Linked DNA regions of Homo sapiens: region 2 is linked to region 1. Evidence: promoter capture Hi-C in 16 types of primary human blood cells and fetal thymus (Javierre and others, 2016). All regions are on one chromosome and are shown on one strand. The core of a region is centred on a gene start or on the middle of the fragment in contact, and the rest is flanking DNA. Distances in the headings are between cores, read along the strand shown.

The links. The method cuts DNA at HindIII sites, captures the fragments that hold promoters and counts their contacts. A CHiCAGO score of 5 or more calls a contact.
Region 2: a contact is called between a fragment that was not itself captured here and the fragment with the promoter of MX2 in region 1, in 1 of 17 cell types (neutrophils). The highest score is 5.0, in neutrophils.

The regions. Positions count from the first base shown.
Region 1 is chr21:41,358,487-41,363,818 of GRCh38, reverse strand. MX2 (MX dynamin like GTPase 2) reads right to left here and starts at 1,792. Exons shown (of 14, transcript NM_002463.2): 1 at 1,764-1,792. RefSeq lists enhancers at 1,248-2,087, 2,108-2,367, 3,650-4,453, 5,275-5,332. The HindIII fragment of the contact is 29,601 bases long and covers 1-5,332 here.
Region 2 is chr21:42,003,236-42,008,552 of GRCh38, reverse strand. The region is part of intron 1 of ZBTB21 (zinc finger and BTB domain containing 21); the gene reads left to right. Among named protein-coding and RNA genes, the nearest start is that of ZNF295-AS1, 3.3 kb to the left of the region's middle. The HindIII fragment of the contact is 1,880 bases long and covers 985-2,864 here.

The DNA of each region.
Region 1 (5,332 bases), core at 543-3,042:
CCTGGGAAGGATGGAAATGGCTGTGCCGGACATGGTGGTTCCCGCTGAAGTCTAAGGCAAGCTGCGTCTCCCACACGGGCATAGCCACTATTGCTGGCTTGCAACCAGTCCGAGAGCTCTGCCGGGTCCTGGGCACCAGGGGCCACTCTGCTGTGTCCCTTTGCTCCAGTCCCAATGTCACTCGCATGGTGCAGGGTCATGGCTGACCAAGCACTGGCACTGAATGCGACCTTATCTCCCCGGGCTCACCTCCTTTCTTTTTAAGACCGCTTGTTTTTCACCCACTCAAAGATATATATTGAGCACTAAGTCCTTGAGATACATATCGAGTCAGGCAGACAAAGATCTCTGGGGGAGCTTGCATTCTAGGGCAGGGGCTAAACCTAAATAAAGCTCACATACATCCTGGCCAGACGCAGGGACTCACACCTGTAATCCCAATGCATTGGGAGGCCGAGGCAGGAGGATCACTTGAGCCCGGAAGTTTAAGGCTGCAGTGAGCTATGATGGTACCATTGCACTCCAGCCTGGGAAACAGAGCAGGAAGACCCTGTCTCAAAAAAGAAAAAGAAAAAAAAATTGTACATCCGAAGGGAGTCAAAAGTGCTTCAGGGGTTGGCGCGGGGCTGGGAAGTAGAGCAGAGTAAACGGAGGAGAGGGTGCGAGGAAAGATAGCTTGGAATCCTGATCTTTTTAAACAGCTAGAGACAACATTCTAAACACAAAATGAGAAAGAACAGTGTTCAAAAGGTGTCATCAAAGCCGAATGGGGTGGCTTACGCCTGTAATCCCAGTGCTTTGGGAGGTTGAGGCGTAAGGACTTCTTGAGCCAGTGAGTTTGAGACCAGCCTGGGCAACATAGAGAGCCCCTGTCTCTACAAAAAGAAATAAAATTAACCAGGTGTGGTGGTGCACACCTGTAGTCCCAGCTACTTGGGAGGCTGAGGTGGGAGGATCCCTTGAGCCCGGGAGCTTGAGACTGCAGTGAGCCATGATCACGCCACTGCACTCCAGCCTGGGGAACAGAACGAGAACTTCTCTCAAAAAAAAAAAAAAAAAAAAAAAAAAGAAAAAAAAACTGCGTCATCAATACCACCATGTCTCCTTTCCGCTCTATATCAATTATAAAATGGACTTCAGCCCCCAGAGTGCAGGCGATCCAGGGTGCAGTGGTCCAGAGTGCTGGAGTTGGCCCCTACTGGCTGGGAACTGGCCACGGTGGGAGCATTCACACCATGAGAACGGAAGAGAATCGGCAAAGGCTAGAAATCAGGCACCACCCTCTGCCCTGCCCCGCCCCATGAGAGCCAATTTCCCAGCATATCACCGTCACTAAGGTTACGTCAGAGCATCACAAATACCACAAAAGAAGGAACACTTGAAACCCTCCGAGACGACTTTTCGGGCACAAAGCTCCTTACTCAACCCCCAGACTTTGTAGGACGCTGAGCAAAGCTGTCCTAAAAACCACCCCTTTGCGTCCACCCGACTTTTGGCCAGATCAGGATGGAGGCCACCCTGTCCCCAGGGCCAGCCACTTCCCCTCCAGAGCCTCTTTGTCTGTGCACAAGGCTACTGTGGGCTGGTGGCAACATGGGCCCTTTCTGCTCCTCACACCAGAATCTTATCTTTGTGGCTCCTGCCTCCCAGCACAAGCCACATTCACCAAGCAGATGTCACGTTACTCAGGAAATATTTTTTAAACACGCATCTGCTGTGCATCAGACACAAAGCAGCCCTCCCTGCACCGGCCCCGCTCTTACCGCTGCACGTTCAGGATGGAGAAATCATCTCTTCCCTTTCCTCCACTTCACTTTTATGTGGCATATGAACCACTCCCTCCCCTGCTCCGTCATCAACAAACAGGGAGAGAAATGAAACTACTTGATCTGGCCACAGAAATGAAACTGAGTTATCAGCGTGCTCTCCAGATGACTCACAGAGTGGTCCCCAAACTCCAGCTGCATCCGAATCCTGGGAGAGCTGTGGAGACGGGGCGGCTGTCCCCCCACCCCCGCCAGAGAGTCTGATCTGTCAGGTCTGGGCTGGGCCTGAGAATCAGCATTGCTAACAGATTCCAGGGGAGGCTGGCATGGGGGCAGCTCAGAGTGGCTCAGTCACTGGAAGGTTCTGCCCTGACAGTGCCATCCAGTACCACCTGTGTGGCTCTGAAATGTGACTACTGCGACCAAGGAACTGGACTTCGAACTCCATGTAATTTGAATGAATAGCCACGTGTGGTTCGTGTATCGGGCCTCACAGATGCACTCCTGTTACAGCCGAGGACATGCTCTCAGGTACATGATCTGGACGCTCTGAGCTGTCCTGCTTAGCTTCATGCCTGAGCCGCACCTGACAAATGTCACCTCTCCCCTCATTAGGTGCGGAAAACCCAAAGAAGGAGGGTCAACAGCTTTCTCCAAGCACCCGTGCCTGAGGTCCCCGCCGCAAAACCAAGACGGTTTTCTTCCCATTGGAGATAAGGAGGCCCCAGGACAAACCCCAGGCTCCGGAACTCAGCCCTGAGCCAGCTGCATGTCATCTTTCTGGTCCTCAGTTACTTTTCACCTGCAAAAGTGAAGGTGCACAACCGCATGCTCCCTAAGGCTTCCTGCTCTGTGACCAAAGTCAAGGAGGGCCAGGCATTCCCATCACCAGAGCCAAGAGGTCTGGGAACCTCCAGGAGGAGCCCTCCAGACACCGGGGAGGGGACCAAGCCTCTCAAGGACTGGCAGTGATGGCTGGGAGGGAGGAAGCAGGCTCTCAGCTCTCCTATCCACCCGTGATCCTCTCCCAGACATCAACACTATACGTTTAAAAAAACTCCTGAGCTCCTCTTGGCTAAGTCATTGTAGTGACTTCCCTTGAGTGCAGGCTTAACTTTACGGAAGATATTTAGAAACTTAACATGTTTTTCAAAACCTTGGCATTAGAAATATTAACACCAGGAGATCATCGTCAGGATCACCTATCCCTGAACCACTTCTCTTCCCAAGAGCCCGGGCGGACAGAGGCTGAGGAGTGAGGGGAGGAATGTGAATCTCAGACTTGGCAGCGTGATGTGACATTCGGTTTCACTAGGAATGTCTTTCACAACAGGGCCTGGGCCGGCCTACTGCTTCAAGGAAGGCACAAAGAAAGGCCTCAGAGAAGCCGGACAGAGGGACACGAGCAGCTCGGGCCAGCTCAGGGGACCCTCCACCCTCTGTCAAGGCAGCATCCCCCTCCTGCACGCCCCTCACCAGCAGCCCTGGGAAGGACCAGAGGTGCCTGCGCATGCAAACTTCAAGGACAGGGTTCTTGCGTTCTGAGCACTAAAGCCCTGAGGGTGAATGAATGTCCCACGCAGCATCCAAGCACAGGGGCCGGGGCCAGAAAAGATGCTGCTGCTCAGGCCTCGGTCACAGCCGCTGGGCGGAGCTCTTCCCTCAGCTCCACATCAGGGAGCGTTACAGTGTGCAGCTTGGTAAAGAGGCGAAGTCCAGAAGCCCCAGTGCCCGCCTCCTGCCCTGGCACGCTGACTCTATGGAAAGCGCCAGCGCCTCTGTGTGCTGATGAAGTTCCTGGCCACCTGGAAGCACCTGCAGCACCTGGAGCCATCCAGAGCCAGCATGCATCCACTCTCCCATGGCCTCTCCAATCACAGAAGGAAAGATCAAGCAAATGCTTTCCTGAATTAACAGGACAAAGGCAATGGTGAAGTGCTGTAGACAAGCAGGGTTCTTACCTGGGGTGTGTCCCTCCCAGCAGAGCACAGGAGCAGCGGGTGCACCTTGGAGTGGAACTCCACCCTGTCATTGTCCGTGTGACCTGGCTCTTTGTTTCTTTTTTGTTTGCTTGAGATGGAGTCTCGCTCTGTTGCCCAGGCTGGAGTACAGTGGTGAGATTTCTGCTTACTGCAACCTCGGCCTCCCAGGTTCAAGCAATCCTCCCACCTTAGCCTCCCAAGTAGCTGGGATTATAGGCATGTGCCACCATGCCCAGCTAATTTGTTTTGTATTTTTAGTAGGGATGGGGTTTTACCATGTTGGCCAGGATGGTCATGAACTCCTGACCTCAAGTGATCTGCCCACCTTGGCTTCCCAAAGTGCTGGGAATTTGGTTGTGAGCCACTGCACCCAGACTGGCTGTTTGGTCCTTAGCCTCTCTGTGCCTCACCAGCCCCACTAGGTTAAATCATCATGACCCTGTCACGGGGCGGGTGTGAGGGGTAACCAGCAGGGTCCACAATGCGTAGGAAATGTGACTCTGATGTGGCAAGCCCCCTTGCGTGGTGCCCACCGGTGGGGGACTGGGCTGGGGGCTGGCAGTGCCCAGTGCCTTCAGAGATGGAATGACAATCTCCACACTAAAGACCACATTGTAGGGAAACATCAACAGGAAGTGGAAATGAATGGCAATTCACAGTCCTGTGCCCCGGGTGCGGACGCAGCAGTGAGCTGCAGGGGCAGCAGAGGGCCAAGGGGCCATCACTGGGTAGGAGGGGCCGTCATCACAAGAACTTCACAGCCCAAAGCCGGATCCCCGGGCGATGCCTGGCCAGAAGCTCCCCTGCGGCCTATTCCATGACAGTGAACTAAGATCAACGAAGCTACAAAAACATAGCAATTTCAGCCAGAATAAAAATGTACTGCCCTCCTTTTTTGATACACAGAAACGTCTATGCCTACCTAAGAACTTAGCACTTACAAGGGCCTATATTAGTTTTGTGGGGTTGCCATCACAAAGAACCACACCTGAGTAGCTTAAACAGCAGAGGTCTCTGGTCTCACAGCTCTGGAGGCCAGAAGTACCACATCGAGGTGTCAGGAGGGCTGTGCTCCCTCGGAAGTCTCTAGGGCAGACCCTGTTCCAGGCCTCTGTCCAGCTTCCCGTGGTTTGCTGGTGATTTGGGGTGTTGCTTGGCACACAGATGCATCATCCCAGTCTCTGGGTGGGTGTTTCCAAATTTCTCCTTTTTATAGGGACACCAGTCCTGATGGGTGGGGGCCCACACTACTCTAGGACCTCTTGATCCTTACTGACCGCATCTGCAGTTAACCTGTTTTCAAATAAGGTTGCATTCTGGGGGTTAGGACTTCAGCAGATGAATTTTGGGGGATACAGTTCAGCCCCTACTGGGATCTGAGCCATGACCCCATCCAGTGGTTTGCAGCCTTCCTTGCAGACAACCAGGCTCCCTGAGGGGCCTCTGCCCAGGGCAGGGCTTGCAGGCTGGGTGATGCTCCTCCCTGGGCCAGAGCACTGCTTGGCTCTCAGCAGTCATCAGGTCATTGTATCTCCACTCACAGTGGCCACCCCCTTCTTTGGACAAGGGCTGTCACGCAGCCCA
Region 2 (5,317 bases), core at 675-3,174, 640 kb before region 1:
TTTTTTTTTTTTGACAGAGTTTCACTCTTGTTGCCCCAGGCTGGAGTACAATGGCGTGATCTTGGCTCACTGCAACCTCCGCCTCCCTGGTTTTGCAACCTCCGCCTCCCTGGTTCAAGCGATTCTCCTGCCTCAGCCTCCTGAGTAGCCGGGATTACAGGCTTCCGCCACATCGCCCAGCTAATTTTTTTTTTTTTTTTTTTTTTTTTTGTAGAGACGGGGTTTCATCCTGTTGACCAGGATGGCCTTGAGATCTCCTGACCTCGTGATCCACCCCACTTGGTCTCCCAAAGTGCTGGGATTACAGGCATGAGCCACTGCGCCCAGCCGAAGGGACAGTTTTAGTTGTCCGCAAAGCCAATGGAAGTAGAGAGAGCAGATTATAAGCTATGTAAGAGCTAGGTTTGACCAGGTCACAGTGATAGGCTATAAGGGAAAGAGAAGAAATTTTAGGGTCTGGCAACACACCAAAGTAAATCGGGAATATGTGAGGACAAACAGATGTGGGAGCAGGGACGAGAGTTGTGGAGTTTAAGTACCATGCTGGACCTGAGGATATACTGTGATGGAACCGTTCAGTAGGTACCTGAGAGGCTGGAGCCTCAAGAGTCTAAACAGAGATACAGATTTGGGAATCATCGTCCAGTAGTGATTAAAGTCACAAGGTCTAATAGAAAAAGCAAAGAATACTGCCACGTTTTGGGGCTCTGTAACGGATGCTGGAGAAATAAAGGTGAGCCAGTCCAGGTCTTGAGCCTCAAGTTTGATGATTTCTCTCTTTGCCCTGTACCTAGCTTGCCAGGCCTTGTGCTGGGCATCAGGGATACGTGCATGCAAACAAGGGTTCTTTCTTTAGGGAGTCCCTTGGGGGAGACACATGTAAAAGAAGATTAATTGAAGAAGTTGTGGTGTTATTACAGAGAGATGAAGTATTGTGGTAGTTTAGATGACTGAGCTGCTGGCTAGGGGCAAATTACAAAAGCTTTGTAGAGTCGGTGACATTTCAACTGGATCTTTCGAAAGAAGTTAGCCAAGTAAAGGAGAGGGAAGAGAGAGATTTTGGGTGGCAGAGGCTGGATATGCAAGTTTGTAGAGTAGATGGTAAGTAGTGTCCAATAAGGGTGGAGAGATGAATTGTAACCAGAGTATGAAAAGTCTTGTATGCCAGTCTGTAGTTTGGATTTTCTTTAGGAATAGAAAAATCAGTACAGTACTCCAAAGCAGGGCAGTGATGTAATACGCTTTACTTCAGCAAAACAACTAACAGCCATAATTTTCACTCGTGCATTTAATTGGAGTGAAGAGTACAGAAAAGTCAAATCTTTATTGTTGTGGAAGATAACATGTTGAGCATTGATAATGCCAAAAGATATTAAATAGATTATCAGTCTTTAAATAGCTTTCAGTCCTCTTGGGGAGACACAAATGACTAACAATAAAGGCAGTGAATAAACATGTAAATGGTGCTGAAGTTGAGGTATTTGCACGTTATAAGATGAAGTAGTCAAGGAAGGTATATTCATTTGCTTGGGCTGCTATAACAAAGTACTGCAGACTGGATGACTCAACAGATTTCTTTTCCCACAGTTCTGAAAGCTAGAAGTCCAAGAACAAGGTGTCAGCAGGGTTGGCTTCTTCTGAGGCTTCTCTTTGGCTTATAGATGGCATCTTCTTGTCCCTACTTGGTCCTTCCTCTGTTCATGTCTCTGTGCTAATCTTCCTCTCCTGTAAGAACACCAGTTACATCAGTTTAGGGGTCACCCTAAAGCCCTCATTTTAACTTAATTACCTCTTAGAGACCATGTCTCCAAGTATGACTACATTCTCCAGGTACTGGAGGCTAAGTCTTTATCATATAAATTTGGGAGGGAAGAGTGGGGACACAATTCAACCCATAATGGAAGATTTTATGGAGTAGCTGGAACTTGACCTGAGCTTTGAAAGGTGATTAATATTCTGAGTAGTGTGCTGAGGAGGGGTTTAGGTGAGTTCTAGGACTTTCCAGATTGGGGAGTGGGAGAAGTCAGATGTGCAGGTTAGGTCTTAGAGACAGAGTATCTGGAGCAGAAAGGGATCACTAGGGAATAACTAAGGGAAAGAAAAAAAAATTTTTTTTTTTTTTTTGAGACGGAGTTTCGCTCTGGCTCAGCTGTCACCCAGTGGTGACTGGAGTGTAGTGGCACGATCTCAGCTCACTGCATCCTTCACCTCCCAGGTTCAAGCGATTCTCCTGCCTCAGCCTCTCGAGTAGCTGGGATTACAGGCGCCCGTCACCACACCCGGCTAATTTTCGTATTTTTAGTAGAGACAGGGTATTACCATGTTGGCCAGGCTGGTCTCGAACTCCTGACCTCAGGTGATCCACCCGCCTTGGCTTCCCAAAGTGCTGGGATTACAGGCATGAGCCACCACACCTGGCTAAGAAAATTTTAAAAGTCATTTGAAACCAGATTTTATAGAGACCTTTAGTCATTGTTTTAAAAATTTTAGCCTAATGGAGAACAATTGTTTTTATTATTTTATTTTTAAACAGGATCAAAGCTGGTTCTCTTCATTCAGATCTTAGGTCTCAGCTGAAATATTCCATCAAGGTATTTTCTGACCATCCTCTCTAGGCACTGCATCCAGCGATATAGCACCTTATTTATTTCCACCATAACTTTTAGCAGAATCTGAGGTTGTCTTTTTTATTTGTTTCCTTAGCATCTGATTTATCTCACTAGAAAGTGGGGGTCTTGTCTGTTTGGTGCACCCCTATATTTCAGATAAATCTAACCATGCCTTGTACAGAATTGGAATTCAGTAAATAAGTTGAATTAATAATAGGAATATTTAACGTGTATGTTGGGTGAGCGATCAAAGCTTTGTTCTAAGAAGCTCAGTCTAGAAGCTGTATTAGGATGGGTTTGGAAGGCATGACAAGGAACAGTGAATACCACGTGGAAATATATTAGGGTTCTTTAATAACAAGAACAGAAACTGTCTGGCTTGAATGGAAAAAGTAGTTTATTGTAAAGATACAGGGTTGCTCTTGGACTTAAAAGAAAAGCTAAAAAACTGGGCCAGGAAGAAGGACAAAAACCAAGCTAACTCCAGGAATCTATGTAGCAGGCACTAGCAAGGTTGCATTTTCAGGCCTCCGTTGAGATAAGTCAGCTTCATTTATTTATTGCCTTTGTCATTCTTCTCAGGATTCATATTCCGAGGACAAAGTTTCTGATTGGTTTGGCTTTGGTTGTATGGTTAGCCCAGAGGTAGGGGAGAGGAGCACATCAGGCTGTAGCACACAGTGGGACAAGAGCAGTTCTTCTATAGCAAAATCATGGGGCTGTTAACAGGAGGTGGAATGGCTGTGTAGTGGCTGGAAGAAAACAGCAAAGGCTGTGACCAGAGTCTGCTCTGCTAAGGTGCAAAGGAGCTTGAACTATGTTGGAGTAGGATCATTCTCCTGAATGTGGCCAAGAACAACCATCAAACCAAAATCAAACCCCCTTGTTAGAGACTGAAAGTGTGGTGAAATGGAATACAAGATAGTAACATGACTCCTCTTGAAGGATTGGATAAGCTAGTCTAGGTTTGAAATCTGAGGATATTTGCGTTGTCACCAAGTGAGTGATGATAAGACCGAAACTCAGAGGCAACTTCCTATCACCATCAAATAGTAAAATCCAATGGTAGGTGTTACGGCTAAATCCTGAAATGAGGGTTTGGGGATAAGCAGTCTGTGTGTGTGTGTTTATGTTCCAAAGTCAAATGTAGATGCTTTGTTTTTTTAACTAGGTATTTGCCTTGTGTTACATGCATTCCCTCTTTTTTCTAGTATCATGGTTAGGACTATAGAAGCAATCCCCAACATTCCAAAGGACCCATGTTCCCAGAGTTGAAATCTAGGTTGATGCTGGATGTAAAGAGCCATTTTCCTGTAGAACTGGTAGTAGCAGTTTTGTGGCTAGTCTGGGAGCCAACTTAATTTATAGTGTACCTTAGCTATGACACTAGTCCAAGTAGGTGAGATTATTTTGATCCCTTTCCATCTCTGTTTCTCACCCCCTCACTCACCCCCTGGTACCCTTCTGAGTGCCAAGTCGCTTTGCTTTCCTCTGCTTCTCACTAGAATGCTCTATATTCGAAATTGCCTACCTTCCCTCTCCCTCAAAAATCTTAATTCCATACAACTGATTTAACACTCTATAAAGAGGAAAGTATTTGCATTGAATTAATTTATGTTAAGATATGAGGCCGGGCGCGGTGGCTCATATCTTACAGGTGGCTGGCCTGTAATCCCAGCACTTTGGGAGACCGAGGTGGGCAGATCGCCTGAGGTCAGGAGTTCGAGACCGGCCTGACCAATATGGTGAAACCCCATTTCTACTAAAAATACAAAAATTAGCCAGTCCTGGTGGCTGGCGCCTGTAGTCCCAGCTACTCAGGAGGCTGAGACAGGAGAATTGCTTGAACCCAGGAGGCGGAGGTTGCAGTGAGCCAAGATCATGCCACTGCACTCCAGCCTGGGTGACAGAGTGAGACTCTTCAAAAAAAAAAAAAAAAGATGTGAGATATGAGTCCCCCACCCCCTTAGCATTTATTACCTGAGGAATTTGAAGTGATGGTATGAAATAATCTTCTGGAATCCAGTTCTGAAGGGTTTTGTAGCCATTCCAGGGAATTGGAAGTTGAGGCCAGGGCAAGCCCTTGGAAGGTTTTAAGCCCCAGCAAGGCCAGATGAGCATTTCTGAAAAGCGTCTATAGTAGAAATGTAAAGAATGGAACCTTTAGTATTAGAGGTTGACTATCCCTTATCTGAAATGCTTGGGACCAGAAGTGTTTCAGATTTCAGATTGTTTGGGATTTTGAAATATTCTCATTATACCCAGTGGTTCAGCGTCCCTAATCCAAAAGTCCAAAATGCTCTAATGAGCCTTTCCTTTGTGCATCATGTCGTTGCTCAGAAAGTAGTTTTGGGTTTTTGGACTAGAGATATTCAGCTTGTATTATAATTGTCAAAGGAGTGATGAGTCCCAAGCCTTCCTTAGGACTATTCACTCATAGTTAATAGTGAATAGTTCCCACTATTCACTCTTCCACCCTCCTACACCCTGGCCAAATTAATTGCTTCCTGGAATCAGTATTCCCGTAGCATTCTTCACATCCTTTGTTAATTATTGTCTGTCCTAACATGGAAATGTGAGCTACAGGAGAACAAGAAGCAGGCCAGTTACTCATCTCCCCATCACCAGCACCTCTTGTGATGTGTGGTGGGTAGCAGGCCCACGCAAGCATCTGTGAGGGGAAGTGGAGAAGGAAGGAAGATGTGCAT